4 separate regions of the Homo sapiens genome follow, and all the other regions are linked to region 2. Evidence: promoter capture Hi-C in 16 types of primary human blood cells and fetal thymus (Javierre and others, 2016). All regions are on one chromosome and are shown on one strand. Each heading gives the region's core, a stretch centred on a gene start or on the middle of the fragment in contact. The rest is flanking DNA. Distances are from core to core; before and after follow the strand shown.

What was found. Contacts are between HindIII fragments. The CHiCAGO score rates a contact against its expected background, and 5 or more counts as called.
Region 1: a contact is called between the fragment with the promoter of BTN2A1 here and the fragment with the promoter of H4C3 in region 2, in 1 of 17 cell types (neutrophils). The highest score is 5.1, in neutrophils.
Region 3: a contact is called between the fragment with the promoter of BTN3A2 here and the fragment with the promoter of H4C3 in region 2, in 2 of 17 cell types (naive CD8 T cells and monocytes). The highest score is 6.3, in naive CD8 T cells.
Region 4: a contact is called between a fragment that was not itself captured here and the fragment with the promoter of H4C3 in region 2, in 1 of 17 cell types (neutrophils). The highest score is 5.6, in neutrophils.

What each region holds. Positions count from the first base shown.
Region 1 is chr6:26,453,921-26,460,210 of GRCh38, reverse strand. BTN2A1 (butyrophilin subfamily 2 member A1) reads right to left here and starts at 2,256. Exons shown (of 8, transcript NM_007049.5): 1 at 2,069-2,256; 2 at 1,493-1,604; 3 at 383-730. The coding sequence starts at 1,574. RefSeq lists enhancers at 2,066-2,225, 2,386-2,645. The HindIII fragment of the contact is 11,033 bases long and covers 1-4,528 here.
Region 2 is chr6:26,100,535-26,106,494 of GRCh38, reverse strand. It overlaps H4C3 (H4 clustered histone 3), which reads right to left and starts at 2,562. Exons shown (of 1, transcript NM_003542.4): 1 at 2,158-2,562. The coding sequence starts at 2,547. The coding sequence ends at 2,236. RefSeq lists enhancers at 2,200-2,890, 2,915-3,024. The HindIII fragment of the contact is 10,429 bases long and covers 1-5,960 here.
Region 3 is chr6:26,362,516-26,369,289 of GRCh38, reverse strand. It overlaps BTN3A2 (butyrophilin subfamily 3 member A2), which reads right to left and starts at 4,092. Exons shown (of 11, transcript NM_007047.5): 1 at 3,938-4,092; 2 at 1,240-1,300; 3 at 1,023-1,112; 4 at 378-725. The coding sequence starts at 1,107. RefSeq lists an enhancer at 4,085-4,134. The HindIII fragment of the contact is 4,055 bases long and covers 1,819-5,873 here.
Region 4 is chr6:26,562,500-26,568,529 of GRCh38, reverse strand. No RefSeq gene overlaps it. Among named protein-coding and RNA genes, the nearest start is that of TRY-GTA1-1, 3.3 kb to the left of the region's middle. The HindIII fragment of the contact is 6,863 bases long and covers 1-4,853 here.

The sequences.
Region 1 (6,290 bases), core at 1,007-3,506, 350 kb before region 2:
CAAGATCGTGCCAGCGAGGGTACAACAGAGCAAGACTCTGTCTCAAAAAGAAAAAAAAAACCCAAAAGAAGTGCACAGTTCAATCCTAAGGCAGGTATAAGACTTCTCTTCCGAGACTGACCATTTTCCCCTGCTCACGGCCTCAGCTGAATTCTGCATGTGCTTCTCAAGAAGTGAAGCCCTTAGCTTAGCAGGGCAAACCCACTCATGTGTCCCTTGTGCAGGAGGAAGGATTTTTCCCTGGAATTCCGTTTCCACAGGGAGAGTGGAAAAGGGAGTCCAGACAAAAATTTGCTGGTCTGCAATGGGCCTGAGGTTAGGAGAGAAACTTTCCCCAAAGTCACACTGTGCCAAAGTAACAAAGCAAAATGAAGCGACGCACCTGCCACTACGAGGTGCAGGATGGCCTCATCGTAGGACCTGCCTTCTTGGAAGTAACAGCGGTAGGTGCCGTTTTCCTGGGCTGTGATGTTGTGTATGACCAGGGCCACGCTGCCCCTGCTGATGTCTTTGCTCACAAAGGTGGTTCTTCCTCGGTACTCCTCCATCTGCTCCTCTGTTCTCTCTCTGCCACCTTTATACACAAACACTGCGGGGGAGAACTGAGACCGGAACCACCGCACCTCCATGTCCTCAGCATTTTTCTCGGGTGACAGATGGCAGCGTAACGTAGTGTTTTCTCCAACCGTGGCCAAGATGGGATCAGTGGGCCCCACGACAATAAACTGGGCTGTTCAACAAAGGGGTAGAGTCAGACAAAGACACCAGCCATCACATCTCTAAGGCAAGAAAGGAAGCAGATATTCTAGGGACAAACTTATTTTTTCCATGGCCATAGGGTCTCTTTGGGCTGAGAAATCTGGGGACCAGTAGCTGTGGCTAGTCGACAGCACCCCTGGGAGCAGTAACTATAAAGTGTGCTTCTGCTTCATGAAGGAAACCCTGAGGAACCTGCCCTGAGCACCCTCTGTCCACCCTGTGCCCTTGAGGGGATTTTCCTCGATTTCCCAATCTAGTGCTGTGCCTGAGTGTACTGTAAACTTGAGCCGTGCAATAGGACACATATCCACTAGCTAGTTCCAACTGAAATGAGCTGTAAGTGTAAAATACACACAGGATTATGAAGATTTAAAATTTCAAAATGTTGACTATCTCATTGGTAATATGGTATATTAACTAAGTATTTAAATATTCGTATTTGATTATTTGGGGCGAAACAAAATATAGTATACAAATTTATTTCATGTTTCTTTTTACTTTTTAAAATAAAAAGTAAAATTTAATTTTTTTTGAAAATTTGCAATTGTACATGCACTCGGCCTTTGTGCCTCACTGTATTCCTTTTGGACAGTGCTGGTATAAATTCAATGAACATGTTCAGAATGAAAGGGTAAGTCAACAACTCCACAGTCCTTCTTTCTTTCCCTTTGCAGACTACAGGGTTGATGTTCCTTTCTGATAGGTGACAGCAGCAAGTGGCACACATCCCTACCTGAGACCAGTGCACACAGGCTGAGGAGGAGGAGGAGGAGGGAGGCTGGCCGGGAGAAGTGCAGGGCAGCAGCTGATTCCATGAGCACCCAGAGCAGGCAGGGACAGGAGGCCTAGGGTTACAGAGGAGAATCAGCCTAGGAGTCTTGGCACCTCAGTGCTGGTCGGGCCCAACCTCTCCCGTCACTCAAGTAGGTCTCATCAGTGCCCCAACTTCAGGGAGTCCCCTGCATCCGAAGGCTCAGGTATGTCCCGAGAGAGGGATTCCTTAAACATTCCATGAAGTAAGCCATCAATGCCAAGATCAAGGGGGCCTTTTTCCGCCCTCCTCGGCTCACTTCTCTGGCCAGAATGCAGTTTCTTCAGTTGTCGCTGGATTCTACCACACCCTCCTCCCTTCACTTCCTCCTCCCCGCGACCCAGGCCGGGCAGCCTGAGGCAAAGACAGGCGAGGCCGCGCCTCCCCACCGGTGGGCTTTCCCTGTCCCAGGACCCCGTCTCGTGTCCACAGCAGACCCCGCTTCCCCCACCTACTGTGCCCACCCCGGAGCTGTAGCGCCTCCCCTCCGTTTCCTACCTTCTAGAATTAAACGTTGCTTTTTCTTTTCTCCGCTGGTTCTCGACGATTCTCCAGTCGTCCCTCTTCTCTCCAATCTGCCCAGGGGCACAGGCACTACTAGACACAAACCTTCCCAAAAGAGGAGAAAAAATTGTTCTTCCCCTTCTCCTAGGTCGCCATGTTTGGAGATGCAGGAAACGAAATCTGGTCTCCTGGGCTTCCACAGTCCCAAGAGTTCCCTAAGTATTTTAGAGCCCAGGATTGGCCGGGTGTGAGTGAACCAGCCAATGGTGTCGAACCTTATTTCTCAGCAGTTGCTGGGTAGAATACACCGAATCACAAATTTCAAGCAGCAAATAACCTTTTGAGATTATCGGGTCTTTTTATTTCCTTTTTCTTTGTTCGAAAGCAAGACTCTCTCTCTCTCTCTTTCTCTCTCAAGACTCTCTCTCTCTCTCTCGCTTTGAGATTCCTTGGGGAGATTCCCTGGGGTTTGTCACTGAGGTCGGTGGCTTTGCTGGTGTCCACAAGGAGAGGCCTCTCTATGTAGAGGGCAATTTTGCTGGGGAGGAAACATGAGCAGGAAAACGTAAGCCGCCCCCTTTCCAAAGCCAGAGGACTCCTGTTCAAGTTGCTGGCTTTGGAGGTTGGGCCTGGAGCGCAGGAGGGCTTGGGGGAAGCTGGCATGGCTGGAGCGGGAGGGGTAGCAAAGGAAAGGAGACAGCAGTTGCAGTGGCTGTTATGAAGGCCTTGCCATTCATTCCAAAGCTATCGGATAAGAGGTGCTGAGAATCCTGACTGAGGATCAAAAACCTTTTCCCTCAGGGAGGTGGCATTCTGGTGGTGGCAGAAGATGGAATTGAGCAAAACTTTCTAGTTGTCCTTCACCTTCTAGATAGTAGGTGGTCAGGTTGGGTCCAAGAGCCACACACAGACACACACACTAGCACACATACCATCCTCCCGTAAACATCATCCCTCTCCCAAAGGCTCCAATCTTGTAATTGTAAAGATATCTTCCAGAATAATCTTCCCGAGGCCCAGTTGTCAATATTCCCCTCAAGTGTCTAAATGCTTAGTCTGGAGGCCTCCAATTCCCTTCTGATTCAATTCAAAACTTTGCAGTTAATACGCTAGCAATGGCTCCACAGTGGCCTTGCATCACAACGTTGCACTCCCTGTGGCCAGTGCTCCTTTTCCCATGCCATGGCTTTCATTTCAATTGCTTGCTCCATCTCTGCCCCGTGAAATCCTGCCCAGCCTTCGTGCCTACTTCCTCCAAGAACAACTCTGAATGTTCCTGCCTGAAGTGTTCTCGGCCTCTTCTGACACCCAAATCTTTTGCTGTTCCCACGTCCTGTCTTGTATTATTGTTACTCAGGTATCCACTGTGTCTCTGCTGTGACAGGAGTACCTGCTTCTCAGGACAGACTTCTGCAGGATGTGATTCCTCTCACCTTACAGGGCCCAGCTCTAAGCTCTAAGCTCTGCTCTTAGCTGTTGTTCAATGCATGAGTGACATGCTCAGGGTAAGGTCATTCCCACCACATCATGGCCCAGTTCCTGGAGTCATTTGGCACCAGAGTGCGAGAGAGAGGTGCTAGCAGGATTAAGCCACTCTAGGTCAGGATTTCTAGGACTGGAAAGGAGGAACCAGTAGGTTCCTTCTGCAGAGAAAGCTCTTTGATGAGAATAAGCTAAAGAAAGCTCTGAGAACTCTTTTTTCCATTGGACTGACCCTTAAACTGTCTCTTTCTCATACAGTAGTCTCACACGTCACCTGATGTTTCTGGATTATAATTCAAATAAGATTCTGGGTTGAGTGGCTTATGAGGGTAAATACATCAGTATTAGAACTGTATGTATATGAATTCCAAACAGGACTGGGCAGCTGTTGAGAAGAGGCAGAAGAGAAGGATGAAAGGGTCTAACAGCATGGCCAGCCAGGATGAGATCTGACTTTATATTTTTTTACCTGAAGAAATAAGGCCCAGGGCTTTGAAGTAGCCCTTTTGCCAGAAGCATCCAGCTAAGCCAGGCTTCAGCCTCTGCCAAAGTTGATCTGAGCTAGAGGGAAACGTGTGTGTTCTGAGAAGGAAGAGGATCAGTTGACGATGGGGTAGCTTAGAAAGAAATCAGGCTCTACTGGGGTGTGCCCGGTTAGATAGTAACAACCTAACCCAATCATGCTCTGTAGTGGGAGGGATAGAGACAGGAAGGGTCACGTTGGCAAGGTTCTTTATGGACCTGCCAACCCTGGAAGAACCAGGATACAGGGTAAGCATTGATTTCCTTTTGCTTTACAATAAACTACAGTCTGTGAAGGTAATATAGCTGTGTCATCTCCAGCTATGGAGTACTCCCAGGGGAGGCCTAGACATGTTGACATACAGAAAATCCATTCCTACTCTGCCCTGTTCAAATTCTAGATTCCTGACTCACAGAATCACTGAACATATTATAATAGTTGCATAAGCTTCTGAATATTAGGACTACAAGCAATATTAACGAGTACATTTATCTTGCCTCAAAAGAACACATTTTTTCAAAAAGAAGAAATGATACTGGGCTTCTAAAAGAACCAAACGTGAGAAATTTGCCTAAACTCTTTCCATCTTGTAGCCTTCTCTCTGCTCATCTGCTTTGGTCTTCTCTGCAATCCACCATTGTTTAGTCCACACCATGAATGGAGCATTTCTTCCCACAGCTCCCATGCACATCTGCTACAGGAGTAACTAGCCACATGTCACTTGGTCCTCTGGCCTAGCCTGGGTCAGGTGTCCATCCCAGACCCAGTCCATGTGGTGAGGCTGCAGGGCCATGTGATGTGGGCATGTATTGGAAGAGAAGAGGTCACTAATGCTAAATGTGGTACAGCGAGGGCAGAGAGACCTTGAAAGGCATTCACTATATTCTCAGAGGCAGAGCCCTTATAACAGACGCTGTTGATGCCCCATCCCATATTCTCTTGGCCTATCACAGTTTGCCAATAGCTGAGGCACAGTTTTCTGCAAGGATGACAACCTTTCCACCTCCAGTGAGTATCTCCCTTCTCCTTTGCCTGTGAGCTTTATCACACCCGTGATAGTTGCTTTTCTGCAGTTACATAGCCCAATCTTAAAGTGCATTAGAATTAACACTCCCAGGCCAACCTTCAACCAATTCAAGCAAAGGAGGATGGGAAGTGGAGATAAAGTCCCAGGCCCTGTAGTCCTTAGGAAGATTCTGAGCTATATCACACATTTCATATGGTTTCTTAGAGAGTCCTAAAAGGGATTCAGCCAAGTTATCCACATGGTAACTGACTCATGAGTGAACCCTTTATCCCATTTGTCATGTAATTGGCTTTTTTTCATTTCTCAATTTGTTTCTGCACTTGTGTTTCCTGGAATCACTTCCCAAATCAGTGTGGTGAGCTGAATAGTGCTCCCCGCACCCACCCTTTGAGCTATATTCACTATGAAAGTTATGAAAAGAATGTATAACACAGTAAAATGAATTTTACACAGAATTAAGGTTATGGACCTTAAAATAGAGAGATTATTCTAAATTGTCTGGGTGATCTCAGTTTAATCATAGGAGTCTTTAAAAGTAAAAGGCAGACTGAGCGTGGTGGCTCATGCCTATAATCCCAGCACTTTGGGAGACCAAGGTGGGCAGATTGCTTGAGCTCAGGAGTTTGAGACCAGCCTGGGCAACATGGCAAGACCCTGTCTCTACAAGAAAATACCCAGGCATGGTGATGTGGCTCTGTGCTCCCAGCTGCTTGAGAAGCTAAGATGGGTGGATTGCTTGAGCCCAGGGGACAATGTGGTGAGCTGAGATCACGCCACTGCACTTCAGCCTGGGTGACAGAGCGAGTCCTTGTCAAAGAAGAAAAAAAAAAAAAAAAGAAAGGAAGGAAAAAAAGGAGAAGGTAAAAGAATCAGAGAGACACAATGGAGAAAAAGACCTAGGAGATGAGCCTCAATGCGCTGTTGCTGCTTTGAAGATACAGGAAGGGAGCTAGGAGCCAGAGTGTGGCAGCCTCTAGAAGTGGGTACAGCCCTTAGCTAAAAACCAGGGAACAACTGGGACGTCAGTCCTATAAATGAAAGGAACTGATTCTGCCAATAGTCTGAATAAGCAAGGAAACAGATTCTTCCTTAGAGACTCCAGAAAGGAATCCAGCCTGCAGACACCTTGATTCTAGCCTGGTGAGATCCCTGTGGGACTTCTGACTTCTCACCTACAGAACAGT
Region 2 (5,960 bases), core at 1,313-3,812:
GTGTCATTGTAACTATTGTTTCTTAATATGCTATCCACTGACTTCAAGGGATCAATAAATAGGAATCAAGGTGTCCCAGAATATGGATTAGGGGAGTTTTTTTGTTGTTGTTGTTGTTGTTGTTTTTCATCTATTCATTATCCTGTAGCTGAAATTTAGAATTTTCTTCCATTGTGTGTGACTGATAGAAATAACAAATTTGTAGGTTATAGTTGTTGCAAGAATCTGGAAATCGTGCTTGCTTATTTCCGAAGTACTATTAGGTATATCAACAAAAACACACATATTACGGTCAAGTGGTTTGATAATTATTTTAATATTATTGGTCTAATACAATTGTAACCCTATGAATTACTTTAAGTATCTTATTTATGAAAAGAATCTGTAAGTTTCATCAGACTACCAGAGCATACCGAAGACTGAAAAATTTTAAGAATCCAAACCTTAATGGAAATGTTGGAGGCTGCCCAATTAGGTTCTGAATTCCACCTTCCTGAATCACAAACTTGTTTTAACTCTCAGTCTGAGGTAAACTACGTTTCTCTTTAAACAGACATAGTTTAATTTTCCTTTGATTTTTGATTTAGTATTCTTACTGATCATCATAAATAACCAATGCTAATGTTAGTCTACTTTGGACCATGGTATTTCGAGAAACTTTGAACAAAGTCCCCTGCAAAACTATGCATTGCATTATTTCACATACATTTATGTTTTCCAGACGGTTCAATAGTACCTCACTTTTCTGAACTTATTTGTATAGTTTGGCATCTTTTTAAAAATTGTGTCCTATAATGAAAGGTTGTAAACATTATGTTTTAAATTTGTATAGATAAAATCAACCACAGACCTTTCCTTGCTTGGATGTAATTGCCATTGTTTCCCAATGAGTTCGGAATTACTAGGATTGTGCAAAAATATGCCTCACTTGCCTGACATAGCAGAGAGCCATTTTGCCTAAATGCTGTGCCCAGCAATGGACTGTCACCAGATTCTCATCACATACAGTGAGGATGAACAACTAGCCTCTCCCAGCAGCTGGCCGGTCTCTCAATAATATGGGACTCCCTCAAGATGGCTTCCTGCACCTTTGCTCCTCTAGCCTTGTATGTATACAAGGCTAGCATGCCTGGCATACATAAGGTTAAAAACAAAATCAATAAGTTATGGTTCTTCCTCCAGTTCTGGGGATTATTAGACCACTTTTTTGTTTTGTTTTGTTTTGGATGGAGCCTCGCTCTGTCACCCAGGCTAGAGTGCAGTGGCACAATCTCGGTTCACTGCAACCTCTGCCTCCTGGGTTCAAGCAGTTCTCTGGCTCAGCCTCCCACGTAGCTGGGATTACAGGTGCCCGCCACCACGCCCGGCTAATTTTTGTATTTTTAGTAGACGGGGTTTCACCATCTTGGCCAGGCTGGTCTTGAACGCCAGACCTCGTGATCCACCCACCTTGGCCTACCAAACTGCTGGGAATACAGGCGTGAGCCACCGCGCCCGGACTTAGACCACTTTGTTTTGGCCAATAGGACAACAGCCATAGAACCCTCCGCAAATGAGAGCTTGTCCCTAAAGATGCTTTATTTACATAGCTGTGTGCCGCATGAGCCAAAAGGTGATAACCTTTGTTCAACACGCGCCTCCAGCCCTTCGGTTAAGTCCAAAGTACCATTCTTAGAATGCTCTAAAATACATAATTTTTTTTTTTTTTTTTTTTTTTTTTTTTGAGGAGTCTCTCTCTGTCTCCCAGGCTGGAGGGGAGTGGCGCGATCTCGGCTCACTGCAATCTCTGCTTCCGGGCTAGCTGGGCCTACAGGTGCAGACCACCACGCCCGGCTAAGTTTTGTATTTTTTTTGGTAGAGGGGGTTTCACCATTTTGGCCAGGCTGGTCTCGGATTCTTGATCTCAAGTGATACACTAGCTTTGGCCTCCCAAAGTGCTGGGATTACAGTCGTGAGCCACTGCGCCCAGCAAAATGCTTTTTGTGGAGCCAATCACTTTATTAGCGCTTACCTCTCTATGCCTACTTTATGCTTTGAAATTTTGTCACAGTGTGGCCGGTCATGGCAAACACAATTCATTCTTATGCAGGATGTCACGGTTATTTCTGTCATCCAAACTCATTCTCGCAACGCATTTCAGCTCTTTAAACGACTTTGTGAGCGGCCCTGAAAAGGGCCTTTGGGTTTTTTTGTTTTTGTTTTTTGAAGTTCTCAGGAGACCGCGTATTCTTAGATTCAGCCGCCGAAGCCATACAGAGTGCGCCCCTGACGTTTTAGGGCATATACTACATCCATGGCTGTGACAGTTTTGCGCTTGGCGTGCTCCGTATAGGTGACGGCGTCTCGAATAACGTTCTCTAAGAAAACCTTAAGCACACCTCGAGTCTCCTCATAGATAAGACCGGAAATGCGCTTGACGCCACCGCGCCGAGCCAAACGGCGAATAGCCGGTTTTGTAATGCCCTGGATGTTATCCCGGAGCACCTTACGATGGCGCTTAGCACCACCCTTCCCCAAGCCTTTTCCGCCTTTGCCGCGACCAGACATGATTCCTATCGCAGTGGAAGGTATGAACTGAAACAGTTCCTTAAATACAAACTTGGCGGACCTGATTGAAAACAACATGAGTTGGCGCGGTTTTTTTTTTTTTTCAAATTTGGTCACCAAGTGGGTGGAGCAAGAAAAACTGTTTCATTATGGTTCATTGTTTTGATTGGCCAGTGACAGCTTGCTCTTTGTGGGAGTGGAAGGGTGTTTGCAAGTTGAATGCGCTGTATTCCTGTCAGCTTAATGACGCTAAGCATAGCCCCATTCCACATTTCTTTTTATTTCCACTTGCTAACTAATAAATTACGGAATAGTTTATTGGGGAACATACAAATAATGTTTAAAGGAGGTCAGATTTATAGGTCAAGGGATTTACCCTCCCAATCATTTTAATATTTTTATTTAAACCAGGCATTTTGATGGCCTTCTCTGTGCTGGACAAGGTATAAGTTTGGCTATGAAGTTTCACTCCTAAAGACCCTATGTTTTGGGAAGGCAAAAAGGTAGCCAAATAATTGCAAATTAAAACCTCATAAGTGCAAACTTCTTCCTCGTCACTTTCCCTATCTCGATTCAAATATTTGTTGAATGACTCATTTTTCTGCAAAAGTCTGAGAGAGACAGGGAATATAAACTTAAGTCTGGATAATATGTTTTCCCGGGACGCTCTTCCTGGTCTGCTGTGCCTGTTTGCTGTGCCTGAAATTCCAAACACTCTTCCCTTCCCTCCGTTTTTAATCCCCTTTCAACTTGCTACAGCTTTAGAGAAAAGAACATTCGTTTTGTACAGTTGGGGATTAATTGAAGTGTAGGGCTAATACTTGATTAAGGTCATTACAAAATCTACAGGGTCTTCCTCTGGGAGGTTTTTGTGATAAGATTATTGGTGTTAAAATAAGGCTAATCCCCTTGAAAAATAAATAGAATAGCAGAATTGGGTCTGAATGTGGTTTGAAGAAAGGGACTTCTCAATTCAAAATTTTATTCTTAGCTTCCTGCGGGAGCTTTCCAGAATGCCCATAAGATCCACTTTTGTTTAAAAAACAAAAACAACCCCACCCACCACTCTCTGGTTAATAAATGAATTTCTATTGGGAATATTTAGAATGGGGCTGTGGCCTGTGAGAGACATTATATAGTAACCTCAGACTTGCTCACATGAAGAGAAGAAATCCAGGAATGGAGAAAAAAGACCCAGGAAAGGCCAGAATGCTCTACATGTCATATTGTTTGTATCACTTCTGAAATAATTGATTACATTCTTCTGCCCCAAATTGAGTTCTTAGGTTCTTCCACTCACTGTCCACATGCCACAACACAGACCTTATAACTAGAGACTTAGCTAGGAAGAAATGTCAAACATTACAGAGAAAAAATGCAGAGTCTGAGATCATAAGTAAAACTCTGAAATCTCAACATGCCTTTTAATTCATGAAAATAAAAAATATAGCAGCATATGCAATATGACAATTCTCTGAAAACATACATCATGTGAACTACCCTGGAACACATCTCGCCAAGTGCCATCTTCATTTTAACCAGAGGTCTAGGATGCCTTTCCTTTATTTTGCCTATTATATCATTTATAAAACCCCATTTTTATTTTGATATTTTATTTACTTTCTATTTCCTGCTCCTAATATCTCCTTTCTAAACTTTTCTCAATGACAGTGACTCAAAAACAATGAATGTCAGAACAAATATTTAAAGGATCTGTACATGTAGATATATATATTTAAAATGGATTCTTCCACTCTGCGAAGAATTCAGGCATACTCAATCTTATGGTTAGGGAGAGATTAGGCTCACTCGCCTAATCTGTATGGCTTCTCGTTCGCTTTCCATTTCACCTTCCTCTCACCCATCAGATCAAACTCATTCATTGAACAAGAGACCTAAGCCCTTCAGATTAAAACTCTGCAAACAAGTTGTGGTTGAGAGGATACATGAAGCATTCAAACAAATAAATCTATGATATTAATCAGAGGTTAATCTATGATATTAATCAGAGGTTAATGCAGTGGCTCACGGCTGTAATCCCAGCACTTCAGGAGGCTGAGTTGGGAGAATCGCTTGAGCTCAGGAGTTCAAGACCATTTTGGGCAACATAGCAAGTCTTCATCTCTACTTAAAAAAAAATAACCAGAGGTGTTATGAAAATATAAATTGTCCAGAACTACCCTCCACAAACTAACTCTCTCAGAATATTCGATATGAGGAATGAAATATGGTGTGTGTGTGTGTGTGTGTGTGTGTATGTGTGTGTGTGTGTGTGTGTATGCACCTATATATGGCACCTATATATTCAACAAACAATTCTGATAATTGGCCAGGGTTGAGAATGACTAGCAGCCCAGCATACACTATCAGTTTTAAGTATATAATTGCGCTTTAGTAAAATGTAAAGAAATCCCAGAGTAGAAATACTTTTAAGCTATATTACAGGTGAGAAAATGCATAAGTATAGTCTCACCCAACTTAGACTATGGGGGCTTTATAATGTCACAACAGTTGTTTCCAGGCATTTGGGGACATCACCACTGGTCTTGGGCAAGAAACTCCTCTAGCCAATGGCTGATTTATCTCACTCCCATCTAAGGCTTCACTGCATTTCTCTTTTTCAGCAACCTAACTTATTTAAAAATATCCATTTTCTGATTCATTTTTTTCTGAATTAAACTGTCAGTACCATTGGCACACCTTTGGTTCCGTAGCATACCTGTGTCTCTGCTGTGTTTTTTTTTTACCTCCACTCCTTACTTTTCTAGAAAAAAATCTCTGCTTTTTCTTTTCAGTTTAAATTATTTCACAAAAAGTTTTCTTGACTTGCACTTCCTAGGCTTGCTGTCCTTGTGTGGGCACGCTCCCATAAACACTATTAATACACTTCGATTTGTTAAAAATAAAGATATCTGGACAGAAAATTTCTTTTCTTTTTTTAAGATTTTAAAATTTTTAATGTTTATTTTTTTCCTAGACTGGAGTACAGTGGCACCATGATGGCTCATGGTAGCCTACACTTCCCCGGGCTCAAGTGATCCTCCCACCTCAGCCTCCCAAGTAGCTGGGACTACAGGTGTGCACAACCACACCTGACTAATTTTGTTTATTTGTTTGTTTTGTTTTTTGAGATGGAGTTTCGCTCTTGTTGCCCAGGCTGGAGTGCAATGGCGGGATCTCGGCTCACCGCAACCTCTACCTCCCAGGTTCAAGCAATTCTCCTGCCTCAGCCTCCCGAGTAGCTGGGATTACAGGCATGCATCACCACGCCCAGCTAATTTTGTATTTTTAGTAGAGACGGGGTTTCTCCATGTTGAGGCTGGTCTGGAACTCCTGACCTCAGGTGATCTGCCCGCCTCGGCCTCCCAAAGTGCTGGGATTACAGGCGTGAGCCACCACGCTCGGCCACTAAT
Region 3 (6,774 bases), core at 2,843-5,342, 260 kb before region 2:
CCTCCCAGGACCCATGGTAGTGTGCACTTGGAGACACAACAGAAGCCATCTGTTACACAACTAAACCAAAATGACTGTGTACCAGTCACTGAAGAGATGGTTTCTTATGCTTCCTATCCCTCGTCCTTCACTTCGCTTATATCTCTGGTGGCCAGAGGAAAGGAGTTCTTTACTTGAGCATGTAGGGTACAGCAGGAATTCTTCCTAAAGGAAAACCTGTGTCTTACTCAAGGGCCTCAGAGAAGCTAAGTTGGGAGGCAGTGCAGGCAATTGCTAGTGAGCAGCCAGGAGTGTCTGCAGTGCTTTTGCAAGAGGGACTCTGCATCTGCTCTAGATCCTACAGAGAAATGTTCTCAGAACAAAACCTGGAGGCTCACCTGCAACCTTCAGCTCCACCAGGGCTTTTTCATAGAAGTCACCATCTTGGAAATAACACAAGTACTTTCCACTGTCAGAGGCTGTGACGTTGTGTATTCGGAGAGCAGCCTTCCCTGCAGTGATGCCATCCCGCAGAATCGAAGTTCTCCCTCGATACGGTGCACTCTGCCTGTCTTCCACTTCCTTTCCATCTGCATACACGTTCACCACCTGCCTTAGGCTGGAACTTACCCACTTCAGCTCCATGGTCTCTGCACTCATGGTCGGGAACAGGTGACAGGGCAGATCAGCGTCTTCACCCACCATGGCCAGGATGGGCCCAGAGGGTCCAAGCACAGAAAACTGAGCTGTCAGCACAAGGGGGAAGCTCCATCAGAGGGTTTTGGAGTTGGGGTCATGAGAGGAAGGGTCCTTCTCAGACAGGGAAGGCGAGATACAGAGAACCTAGAGGGGAACACAATCCTAACAGAAGGACCATTTGTCTCTTTGTGACAGGTGATCCTTCAGGTTGGGATGGACTTCCAGGTATGGGAATGAGTTAAAGGTTCTAAGAGGGCATTTAGGTAATTGTCTGCTTAATTAGGTAATTGAGATAATTGTCTGCTTCAGAAACATAAATGTGGAATCATGGAATCATTCCCTACCTGAGCAAGGAGTGAGCAGCTGGACCAAGAGGAGGGAGACATGAAAGTTGAGCAGAAGGAAAGCCAGGGAACTTGCCATTTTCATCTATGCTGCATATCAAGAGATACCAGAAGGTGTGGGACAGACACTATGGCCTGGAAGAAGCTTTAGGATTCTGCATGGAAATGTCCACTTCCCCAGGGCTAACTCAAATATGGTGACCGAAGAAGATCTTACCTCTGCCAAAAATGTCTGTCCTTGAGTGTCTTTACCTTTGGGTTCCAGTATGGAAAACCATCTGTAAAAATAATATCTGTTATCTGATCAGGACATCTCTGACTCTACTGCATTAAAATATTAAAATATTCATAATCCTATCACTTCCCCACACTTCCCTTGCCAGGTCCAAGCTTCCATCATCCCCCTCTGATTCATGAAGGACCCTCTTCACTGGATTCCCTGGTCCCACCCTTGTTCAGCTCTGTGGGTGTCCAACACTATGGACTCCTCAAGCGTCAAACTCTTGGCCATTACTACAGTCAACTTATGGCCTGGTGGCTCCTGGTGGGATCCAGGCAGACTGCCTGGCAGAGGCTCTGAAGTCAGTCAGGGGCTGAACCCACCACGTTTAATCACAAAGATATTGATTAGGAGAGCTTTGAATAAGACCAGGCTTTACTCATCTTTTCTTTCTTCCCTTCATAAAGTTATTCAACAAATATTTACTGAGCACCCACAATGGGCTGGACCCACTATGGTAGAGTTAGGAACACAAAGAGGGTAGACAATAGGTAAAGGCTCTACAAGTCACAAGCTTGATGATCTCAGTCATGGGACAAAACCATTTCAACTTTAGTTACTCAAAAATATCGAGTATGAGACTTAGAATGTTCACAATTGGCCCAGCAATTCCACTTCCTGATGGTTACTTCAGCGAAGTACTCGCATGGGTGCAGAGAGAAGCCTCTGTGGGAATGACACTGCAGCACTATTTTTAAAGTATAAAAGTGGTTACCAACTGAACCAGCCACTCACAAGAGACTGGTTAGAGGAATGATGGCTCATCCCTAGGAGGAAATTCAATGCAGCAGTTAAAAAGAGTGATTTAATGTCACTAGCCTGGATAATGGAGATATACTAAGTGATTAAAAAGCACCTTGCAGAACTATACTAATGATTCAATTGAAAAACAAAAGCAAAGCTATACATTTCTGCATAACTATATATGTAAATGCCTGAAAAAGTCTAAAATGATGGATGCTAAACTGAAAATTGGAGGTTAAGTGAGTGAAAGGACGCTTTGGCCTTTTGCTTCCTTTACTTTTAAAATTATTGGAATGCTTTAAGTTTAAAATTTTCATGTATTAGTTAATAACTAATTATTATGAGGAATAATAGTGACTGGAACATATTAGCTGCTCAGTAAATACTAACTCCTCAACAGTTTCTCCCAAAACAAAGGAGCATGAGGCCTGCAGCCATCATACCAGCTGCTGTGGGTCTGGGAATGGCCTCTGAGAACAAGGTCTGCAGATGGAGGTGGGGAGAGATGTAGAGGAAGCAAGGGAACAGAGGTCTGTGCAGCTGGTCATGCTCCACCCCTGCCTGGATCTTGCATCCACCATCAGACTAAACATTATATTTCACCACATCTTCTGCTCCTCGAAACTGCTCTTTATTCTCCTAAGGAGAAGGAGGTATTATTAAGCTAAGCTAAAAATTTCTCTGCTGTCCTCAGAGGGAGAACTTTTATTTTTTAGGTTATTTATTATTCATTCTTTCTACTATAGACAATTTTGCCAAAGAAAAAAATATAAAGGAATAAAACCTTAAATACTCTGTAGTTATATACTTTGCTAATGGAAGTGGAAATGTTTCTGGAAGCATTTGGCCATGTACACATGGCAAGTGCCTTTAAAATGTTGTATTATTTGCCCCCAAAATTCCAACTATAAAAGTTAGTGTTGAAGAAAAAAATTTAGAGATTGATGCAAATATTTATGGATAAGGCTGTTCAATCTAGTAAAATCTACAGTAACAAAATGTAGAAACTGAAAAATCCAAAATAAAGAGTTTTAAAAATAATTCGGGTTTTTTATTTGTTTGTTTGTTCTTTTTTCTTCTTTAGGAGCGGCTTTCTGAGTCAGAGTAGGCTCACAGAGACTCCCAATAATTATATATTCATACAATGTAGTAGCTTGTAACCATGGGAAATCATGCTTTAGGTTTTGGGGAAATGATGAATGGAAAGAAAACCAAGTACTATCCCTAAAAGATACCAAAAATGGTTTAATATAAGGATCCAGTGTTATTAAAATTATAAAGAATTTCACTTAATTAAAATTATGATTCCTAATGGTTACATGGAACATGTTTTATGACTGAACCATGCATTGTTTGTCTATTCCCCACCTGTTGAATATGTATGTTGGTTCAGATTTTACTATATTATAAATACTTCTGTAATAAACACATTTACATATAAATCTATGAGGCACATCTCTTTTTTCTTCTTCTTCTTCAGAATTTCTCAGAATAGATGCCTTGAGTTGGCCAGAACAGATTTTAAGGGTTTTTTGTTTGTTTGTTTGTTTGCCCTTTTCTGACCACAATACGTTAAGAACATGCAGTTGGAATATTTCTTCATTCATGTTGTCTCCCTTTCCTTCCACTAAATCCCAACCTCTGCAGTTCCTTATACTTTGCAGTACTTCTCCCGTCTTCCCACGTGCCCATATGTGCATGTGCGAGTGTGCACATGTACACATGTACACACACACACACACACACACACACACACACACACACACACAGGCACTGCACCCCTTTCTCTGGGAGAGTACTCTCCCTGCATGCCCACTCACCACTCTCAGCGATTCAGCCCCGCTCCTCCCATGCGTTGTAGCCCAGGCTCTAATCAATTTCCTGCACTTACCCCTTGGTATTCCCATTGGAGAATCAGAGCCCACAGAATAAAGACGGTCAATCAATAATTCTCCATTCTTTCTATTATGGCTTAGCCTCTCATCCGGAAGAAAGGAAAAAGAGAAAGCAAATATTGTCTTCTCACCATGAGAAACAGTAAGAGTCGCTCTTTGGAAGAATTAGTTTTTTGATTGGCTCAGAGGTGATGTTTCTCATCAGTTGCTGGGCAGAAACCACTGAGGAACGTTGAAATGAAAACTGAAAGTACATTGAATTGTACACGTTGAGGAAAAACTCCAGCCCTACCTCCCTTAGTGTTTGTGTTTCTGTGTTTATCTATTTGAATCATTCTTGTGCGTGGATGTATATAAGTATTTCTTTATATTCACCTGTCTCGTGTCTTTTACATGGTAATAGAAATATTAGCAGAATGGAGTAGGAAAGTAAAAAAATTTAATGTGCAAAGAGAGGAAGATGTGCACTAATTAAGATGCTTCTGTGGCAGTTTGCTTGCATGTAGATAGGTACGTAGAAGAGGAGGATCTTTTTTACAGAGCCTAATAAAGGTATGAATGGAAAGAAAATGAGACAAACTGCACCTCTTTAAGAACTTCTGGCATTTAGGCTTAGGATATGGTATCAAATAATATAATTTTTCTGATTTCCAGAGGCAGTGCTGCTTGACATTGTTTTACCTTTCCCAGGAAATTCTTACTGCAGATCTTTCTGAGCATCTTCATTCACCCTCAGCTCCTGGTTTGTGCTATATTGTATTTTCTTGGGTATTTGTTTCTCACGCTGCCAGTGGAGTACATATTCTCTGAAGCTAGACACTCCATAGGCTGTGGTCTCTGTAAGGCTCGTTTCCTGTACACCATCTCTGTAAGGAGTTTATGGGACAATCTTGTTCTCCCTGTGGCTTACGACCTCAAAACACACTTTTTTGGGCTGCAAGCCAGAAATCTCCTAGAGCTAATATGTGACTGGAGCTGATGGGATTTGATTATATTGCAACAGTTTGAATTTAGGCTGTGTGGTATCTGCTTGAGATGGCTGGTTGCTTCTGCAGCGTGCATGCCCCCTTCTTCTTAGTGACAAGGCCTAATTTTCTGGGGTACTGCATCCTGCTCTTCCCCCTTGAAGATAGGGCAGGCCAAGGGACTAAGTTGGAGCCAGCGGTTTGTAGGTGAAAGTTGTGGGCTTGTACTTCTCCCAGAAATCCTTCAAAGGGAGGCCAAAATAGCTGGGAGTGTGAGGGTACACTCTCCCTTCTTCCTTCTTCCTCTTGCCTAGAACATGGACTTTGGACCCGGAGGTGCAGTAGCCCACCCTGGGACCATGAGGCAGCCTTGAGGTTGGAAGCCACACACTGGGACAGCAGAGAATGAAGTCAGAAGCAGGCTGGGGCATGAATGACATATCTGAGGTGCCAGATCAGCCCTGGACTGTCACCATCTAAATTTATTTAAAAAATTTTTTCTTTTAAAATATTTTATTATATATTAGTACTCAGGGTAAATTTCCAAATAAGTTTGTTTTTCATGAAAGGAAAACAAATCCTTGTTTTATTTAAGCCAGTGGTACTTCTGGTCTCTGTTATCAACAGAAAAACACAATTTTTCCCTCCCCCTTCCCCCTCCCCAACAGTTTATTATAAAACTTCTAAAACATATAGCAAAGGTGAAAGAATTTCAGTAAATTCCAATATATCTACCATGTAGATTGTATAATTAATATTTTAGTTTCTTACTTTATTATAAATCCATCCTGCTGTTCACCCCTATTCATCCATCAATATTTGTTTATTTGTTCATTTGTTTATTTTTAAATTCAGACTCTATCAGAAGCTGTGCTGCTTGAGATCGTATTAGTAAGAATGAACATCCCACCTTTGCCTGGAGGGTCCAAGTCACTTTGACACAAAGAAGCAGCCAATGTGCTAAGCTTCAGATTAGGAGTTTCTGAGCCCAACTCTTCATATCTCTGAACTTTGTAGTTTCCAAACTATGAGACCCCTAAGTTCATTTCTCACTCAATGTCTTTGTTTCTTCAGCTATGGGTAGGGATGTGACCTGCTTCTTAAGTTGTTTGGGGAGAACCTAGCACAGCACCTGCACATATTAACTCTTTATGAATGTCATTATTTTCCATTATGAAAGGTTCGGTATCAGCTGGTGCCTGTTGTGGAGTTGGAGTTTTAGTTTGAAGGTGAAGAGAAAATCTTTTTTAAAAATGGCATGAGAAAATGTGTACATTGGAAACAATAGTGTGAAAGGTGCCAGGGAAGATGGGAAGTAAGAGTGCCATTTACATTGTATTCTGTGGAATGATGACGCTATGATTACACAATATAGCCAGTCCTCATTAGAGAATCAGATGGTAGAAGACAAGGAGACCAGGAAGAAAGCTACTGTGACACTCCAGGCAAGAAATGATGAGGCCTTAGGGATGGAGGAGAGGGAAGAGGATTGATTATTATTCTTAATAATAGCTTATACTCACATAGAACCTACCGTGATGTTGGTATTGTGCTTAGAGGTTTACATGCATGAATAATACTTTTGCTTTGTGAAGTTCTGAGCAGAGAAGCCCACTAAGCTCTGCCTGGACTTCTGACCCACAGAAACTGAAGTGATAAAAGTGTACTGTTATTTATTTATTTATTTTTGAGGCAGAGTCTCGCTGTGTTGCCCAGGCTGGAGTGCAGTGGCACAATCTTGGCTCACTGCAACCTCCACTTCCTGGGTTCTAGCAATTCTTGTGCCTCAGCCTACCAAGTAGCGGGGATTATAGGTGTGTGCCACCACGCTGGGCTAATTTTTTATCTTTTATTTTTTGCGTTTTCAG
Region 4 (6,030 bases), core at 173-2,672, 460 kb before region 2:
CAATGCAATTTTAATGGGATTTTATTGAGATAACTGACAGGAGGAAGAGAAGGAAGAGCAGGCTAAATAATGCAACTTCGAAAGCATAATAATTTTTTTTTTTTTTTTGAGACAGAGTCTCGCTCTGTCGCCTGGGCTGGAGTGCAGTGGCGCGATATCGGCTCACTGCAACCTCCGCTTCCCAGGTTCGAGCGATTCTCCCGTTCTCCCGCCTCAGCCTTCGAGCAGCTGGGATTACAAACGCAAGCCACCACGCCCGCCTAATTTTTATATTTTTAGTAGAGTTGTGATTTTTGCCATGTTGGCCAGGCTGGTCTCGAACTCTTGGCCTCAAGTGATCCGCCCGTTTTGGCCTTCTAAAGCCCTAGGATCATAGGCGTGAGCCCACAGCAGCTGGCCATCACATTAATTCTTAACTCAGCAAAAACCTATCCATGGGTGTGCTAAAATGATACATTTTTAAATGATTAACACAAGGTAATATCATTTCAAATATTAGTTTTGCAAAGTGTAAGATTCTTGTCTAGCTTTCTATGACTCTGAAGCTCAGAATAGCTATTATCCTCCCTTGTTAATGAAAAAATCCACTTGTGGTGGAATCTGGCATCCGAAATCTGTTTCATTATGGCCCGGCGCGGTGACTTACCTCTGTAATCCCAGGACTTCAGCAGGCCGAGACGGGGAGATCACCTGAGGTCAGGAGTTCGAGACCAACCTGGCCAAAATGGTGACACCCCTGTCTCTGTTAAAACTACAAGAATCAGCCGGGCGTGGTGGTGGTGGGCGCCTGTAATCCCAGCTACTCGGGAGGCCGAGGCAGGAGAATCACTGCAACCTAGGAGGCAGAGGTTGCAGTGAGCAGATATGTTGCCACCGCACTCCAGCCACTCCACAGAGCAAGACTCCGTCTCAAAAAAAAAAAAAAAAAAAAAAAAAAGAAAAGAGAAAAAAAAATCTGTTTCATTCTTTTTCATGTTCCATTAAAGATAATTACCTTGTCATATAATGAAACATGCACAGGGCAAATGATCCTTCTTGTGCAAGTAGGCCATTGAGCCCAATGTTCACTCCTTTATGGCACACAGATTTTTTTTTTCTTTTCTGAACAAAAATTGAAAGTACATTTAACTTGGCCATTAATCTCCTCAAGTCCATGAAACATTTATTTGAGTGGGGCGAGTCTCGATGAATTAAATGTAATGTTTTATCTCCTCTCCAACCTCAATTGCCTGAATAAGTTATCCTATTTCACAGATGTATTTACTTTTATACATTTGGTCAAAATACACTTTTCAAACGGTTAAATGCATGATTCATATACGAATATGAAATAAACACTTGTCAAAGGTTTAATTCACTAATGAGGGAATCATCAAGATGGTAAAACTGGTAAAACTGGATCGAAGAATTTATTGATAGTCACTGAAAGAAGCAATGCTGTAAATTAACATTGCTAAGTGAGGTAGAGAACTGGAAACTGCCTTACAGGACAATAAAACTGTACTGTTTCTACAGGACGGAAAATAACTAAATATCAGACGAAGTTCATTTGCATCACCACATCACGACGTTCCCTTACAAAGCTGAAAAACTACCCTAATCAATAAATAGTAAACTAGGCCGGGCTTGGTGGCTCAGGCCTGTAATCTCAGCAGTTTGGGAGCCTGAGGCAGCTAAGTCTCTTGAGACCAGGAGTTCGAGATCAGCCATGGCCAACATGGTGAAACCCTGTTTCTACAAAAAATACAAAAATTAGCGGGTCGTAGTGGTCGGGGGCCTGTAGTCCCAGCTACTGGGACTGGCTGAGGAGGGAGGATCCCATGAGCCAAAGAGTGTGAGGCCACAGTGAGCTATGATTGTGTCACGTCACTGCACTGCAGCCTGAGCGACAGAGCCAGACCCTGTCTCAAAAATAAATAGTAAGCCAAAACAATGGTACATACTCGTGGAGCAGTAATTTCTCTAATGGAGCAATTTTGCCTTCACAACGGTCATCTGACAATGTAAGAAGACATTTTTAATTGTTGTGACTGAGGAATATAGTAGGTAAATTGTTGTGACTGAGGAATGTAGTAGGTAAAGAACAGGAATGCTAGTAAACATCCTGTAATGCATAGAACAGCCCCCACAACAAAGAATTATAATATCTAGTCCAAAATGTCAATAGCGCTCTATTGAAACTCTGCTCTAGAGAATGAAAATAAGATAATCCTGGGCCTGCAGTTTTCTAATTGGCTCCCCTTGTCCAGATTGGTCCCCTCGGTTCTGTTCTCCACACAAAATGCCAGCAAGTTCTCACTGAGAGGTGTCTGAGGTCCATAAGATTGGCACCATTAAAAGAAGTTCCCCCCGGGCGCGGTGGCTCACGCCTGTAATCCCAGCACTTTGGGAGGCCGAGGCGGGCGGATCACGAGGTCAGGAGATCGAGACCATCCCGGCTAACATGGTGAAACCCCGTCTCTACTAAAAATACAGCCGGGCATGGTGGCGGGCGCCTGTAGTCCTAGCTACTCGGGAGGCTGAGACAGGAAAATGGCGCGAACCTGGGAGGCGGGGCTTGCAGTGAGCCGAGATCGCGCCGCTGCACTCCAGCCTGGGCGACGGAGCGAGACTCCGTCTCAAAAAAAATAAATAAAAATAAGTAAATAAATAAATAAAATTTTAAAATGCAGCCCATGTGGCAAACTAACATGCAGTTAATTCGCAGATTTGATTTCCATTCATTCATTCGGTAAAGGTTTACTGCGTACCTGCTGCGAGCTGATGGAAGAGGCCCTGGGTTCTTTGCGAGCGCGTGGTCCCTTGAGTCCCTTGAGGGTGAGGAAATCGCACCACCGACCTCCACGTGTAGGGGAGGACGTGGTGCAGCAGCGCCAGATAACGCCGGAAGAACCCCAAGTGGAGGCTGCTTGGGTCCCTCGGGAGTGAGTGAAGAACCAATTTCTGTGGCATGTGTTTCAACAGTAACTGTACTGTAATGCTTCCTAAAAAGTAAATATGTATTGAACTAATTGTATACATAGACCCTTTTGAACACAATTTAAAAGTAAATAATGAATTTTGGTAGTAGAAGTTACAGCAACATGGACAGGCTATTTACTCGTATGTATGATGTAATGGAAAGAACACAGAGAGGTATTGGAGCCACTTAGTCCACCTTTGAATCTATGTCTCACTAGTAGTATGACTTCCCTAACTTCCTCATGCCTTATACAAAATGGAGATGATGATAATGAAGGTAATACAGATCCTAAGGGGATAGTTGTGAATATCAAATTAAATAGAATTTGTAACGCACAGTTCTCAGAGTGTGCTGTCCACTGCCTTACTCCCACAGGCTCAAACAGGGGAACCCACAGAGAGTACTTTGAAAGCCTTTTCGCTGGGCCTTATCTTTAGTGAAATTAGAGTATAAAAAATTCAAGAATAACACCATAGGAAGCATACGAGTAATAATGTAATCATTAAAACAAGTCCCAAACAGTACCACAAAAAAAGCTAAGTACACAAGAATTTAGACTATGTAAGAGATCAGATTTGGTTGAGATTAATTAAGGAAAGCCTCCTAGATGGAGTTATAGTCCTTACAGAGGATTTTTTTTTTCGAGACAGGGTCACACTCTGTTGTTGATGCTGGGGTGCAGTGGTCCAGGCTGGGGTGCAGCGGTGGGATCAAAGCTCACTAAAGTCTTGAACTCCTAGGCTCAAGGGATCATCTCCCCTCAGCCACCTGAGCAGCTGGGATTAAGGCACATATCATCATGCCCAGCTAATGGGCTGGTTTATTTTGTTTTTGTATTTTTGTAGAGACTCAGTATGTTGAGTCATAGGTCTCACTATGTTGCCCATGCTTAGTTAGGAATTTTGAAGAAGCGATTGATCAGAATCACTTTTTTTTTTCCCCTGAGACGGAGTCTTGCTCAGTCACCCAGACTGGAGTGGTGCAGTGGCCCGATCTTGGCTCACTGCAACCTCCGCCTCCCAGGTTCAAGCAATTCTTCTGCCTCAGCCTCCCTAGTAGCTGGGATTACAAGCGCCCGCCACCGCGCCCAGCTAATTTTTGTATTTTTAGTAGAGACAGGGTTTCACCATGTTGGCCAGGCTGGTCTCAAACTCCTGACCTCGTGATCAACCCGCCTCAGCCTCCCAAAGTGCTGGGATTACAGGCGTGAGCCACCACTGGGGAATATGGCAAAACCCCGTCTCTACAAAAAATACAAAAGTTAGCTGGGCGTGGTGGCACGTGCCTACAGCTCCAGCTACTCAGGAGGCTGAGATGGGAGGATCACTAGAGCCTGGTGTTAATGGTGGTAATGGTGGAGGGTGTCCAGGTTCTTGGCGTCTTGAACAAAGAACTGGACAAAACGCACAAACAGAGCAAGGAAAGAATGAAGGGTTTTATTGAAAACGAAAGTATACTCCACAGTGTGGGAGTGGGGCTGAGCACAGGAGCTCAAAGGCCCCGTTACAGAGTTTTTGTGAGTTTAAATATCATCTACTTGGGGTACGCCCTATGTAAATGAAGAGGATGAATTAAAGTTACAAAGTAATTTACTCCGTGTATGCCCTATGGAGAGGATATTTCCTGTTATAGCTGAAGTGTGAGTTGGCCTTATGTTCCTTGACTCCAGGCCCTATTTTTCTGCCTCACTGGGAAGTCGAGGCTGCAGTGAGCTGAGATCGCGCCACTGTACTCCAGCCTGGGCAACAGAGGGAGACCCTGTGTCATAAATAAATAAATAGGAAGAAAGCTGAGTGAGATAGCCTGTTTTTTGATTATCCCCAATTCTCCCAGCTACATTACCTTTCATACTGTCCTCCAAAATAATGTAGTGACGTTTTCTTGGAAAGCTTATTACAACATGGCTGTTCCAGACCTATCCCCACTCCTGGTCTTGCCTCACAGAGTAACCCTAATGAGATAGGGCAGGATATCCTTCCACTCCCTGTCAAGATCTCGTCCTGTACTTGTCTAATAGGTGTCAGTGAGAGGTATCCGTTTTCTGACCTCTTTTATATTACTGTTTTTCCTTTCTGAAGTCTCCTTAGAGTCTATTGTTTCTGCATTTAACATTGGTATACTTTCACGTGATAATGCATGCCCCTAGAAGGGTGCCTACTTTTCACAGGGCAGCAGGAGAGAGACTGAGAACCAAGTGAAGGAAGAAGCCCCTTATAAAAACCGTTAGATCTGGTGAGAACTTACCATGAAGAGAATAGCGTGGGGGCAACCGCCCCCATGATTTCATTACCTCCTACTGGGTCCCTCCCATGACACACGGAGATTTTGGGAACTACAATTCAAAATGAGATTTAGGTGGGGAAACAGCCACACCATATCACACCATATCACCAGCTTTATAAACGGTTAAGAGGGACCTGAGGGTAAGGCTTATCAGATGAAGGGCTAGTATTCTCACTGCCTGATTATTACAGCAATCACAATATTGTAAACACACACAAAAATGGGCATCGTACTCCCAGAATGTTGGTTTTTTCCCTACCTCAAGATGATTTTATAAAAGTCTTCATAATCCAGTTCTTGGTTCATAAACACAGTAATTCAGAAGCCACTTTAGTCTTCCTGGTCTCTAAAATGTATATCGCTTTTCTTAGATTAATTATAAATTAATTAATTGATTGTCATGCCCACATCTTAGGTGATTCTGATGTCACTTGAAGCATTTTAGAATTACCAGTGTGAATTTTAAAAGTACAAGATTGTTAATAAACTATTATTTATCTGTAAGTAGTCTTGTGAACTTTTATGGCATTAGATGTGTCTTTAACCAGTTCTTCCAGTCTTTTCTGTTATTTCCTGGTTGTTTGCCTGTCACAATTAATAATTTACATTTGAAAAGAACCATATTTTCTAAATACATTTTTGCTAAATGTTAGTTCCTTGAGTATCAATAGTTCCTTGAGATGTTAATAGATGTTATTTGGTTAAAAAAAAAAAAGAGCATTGACTCCATTCTCTTTACCAGGCCTACTTTAAGCAATGAGCTGTAAATTTCAGAACATTAGAAG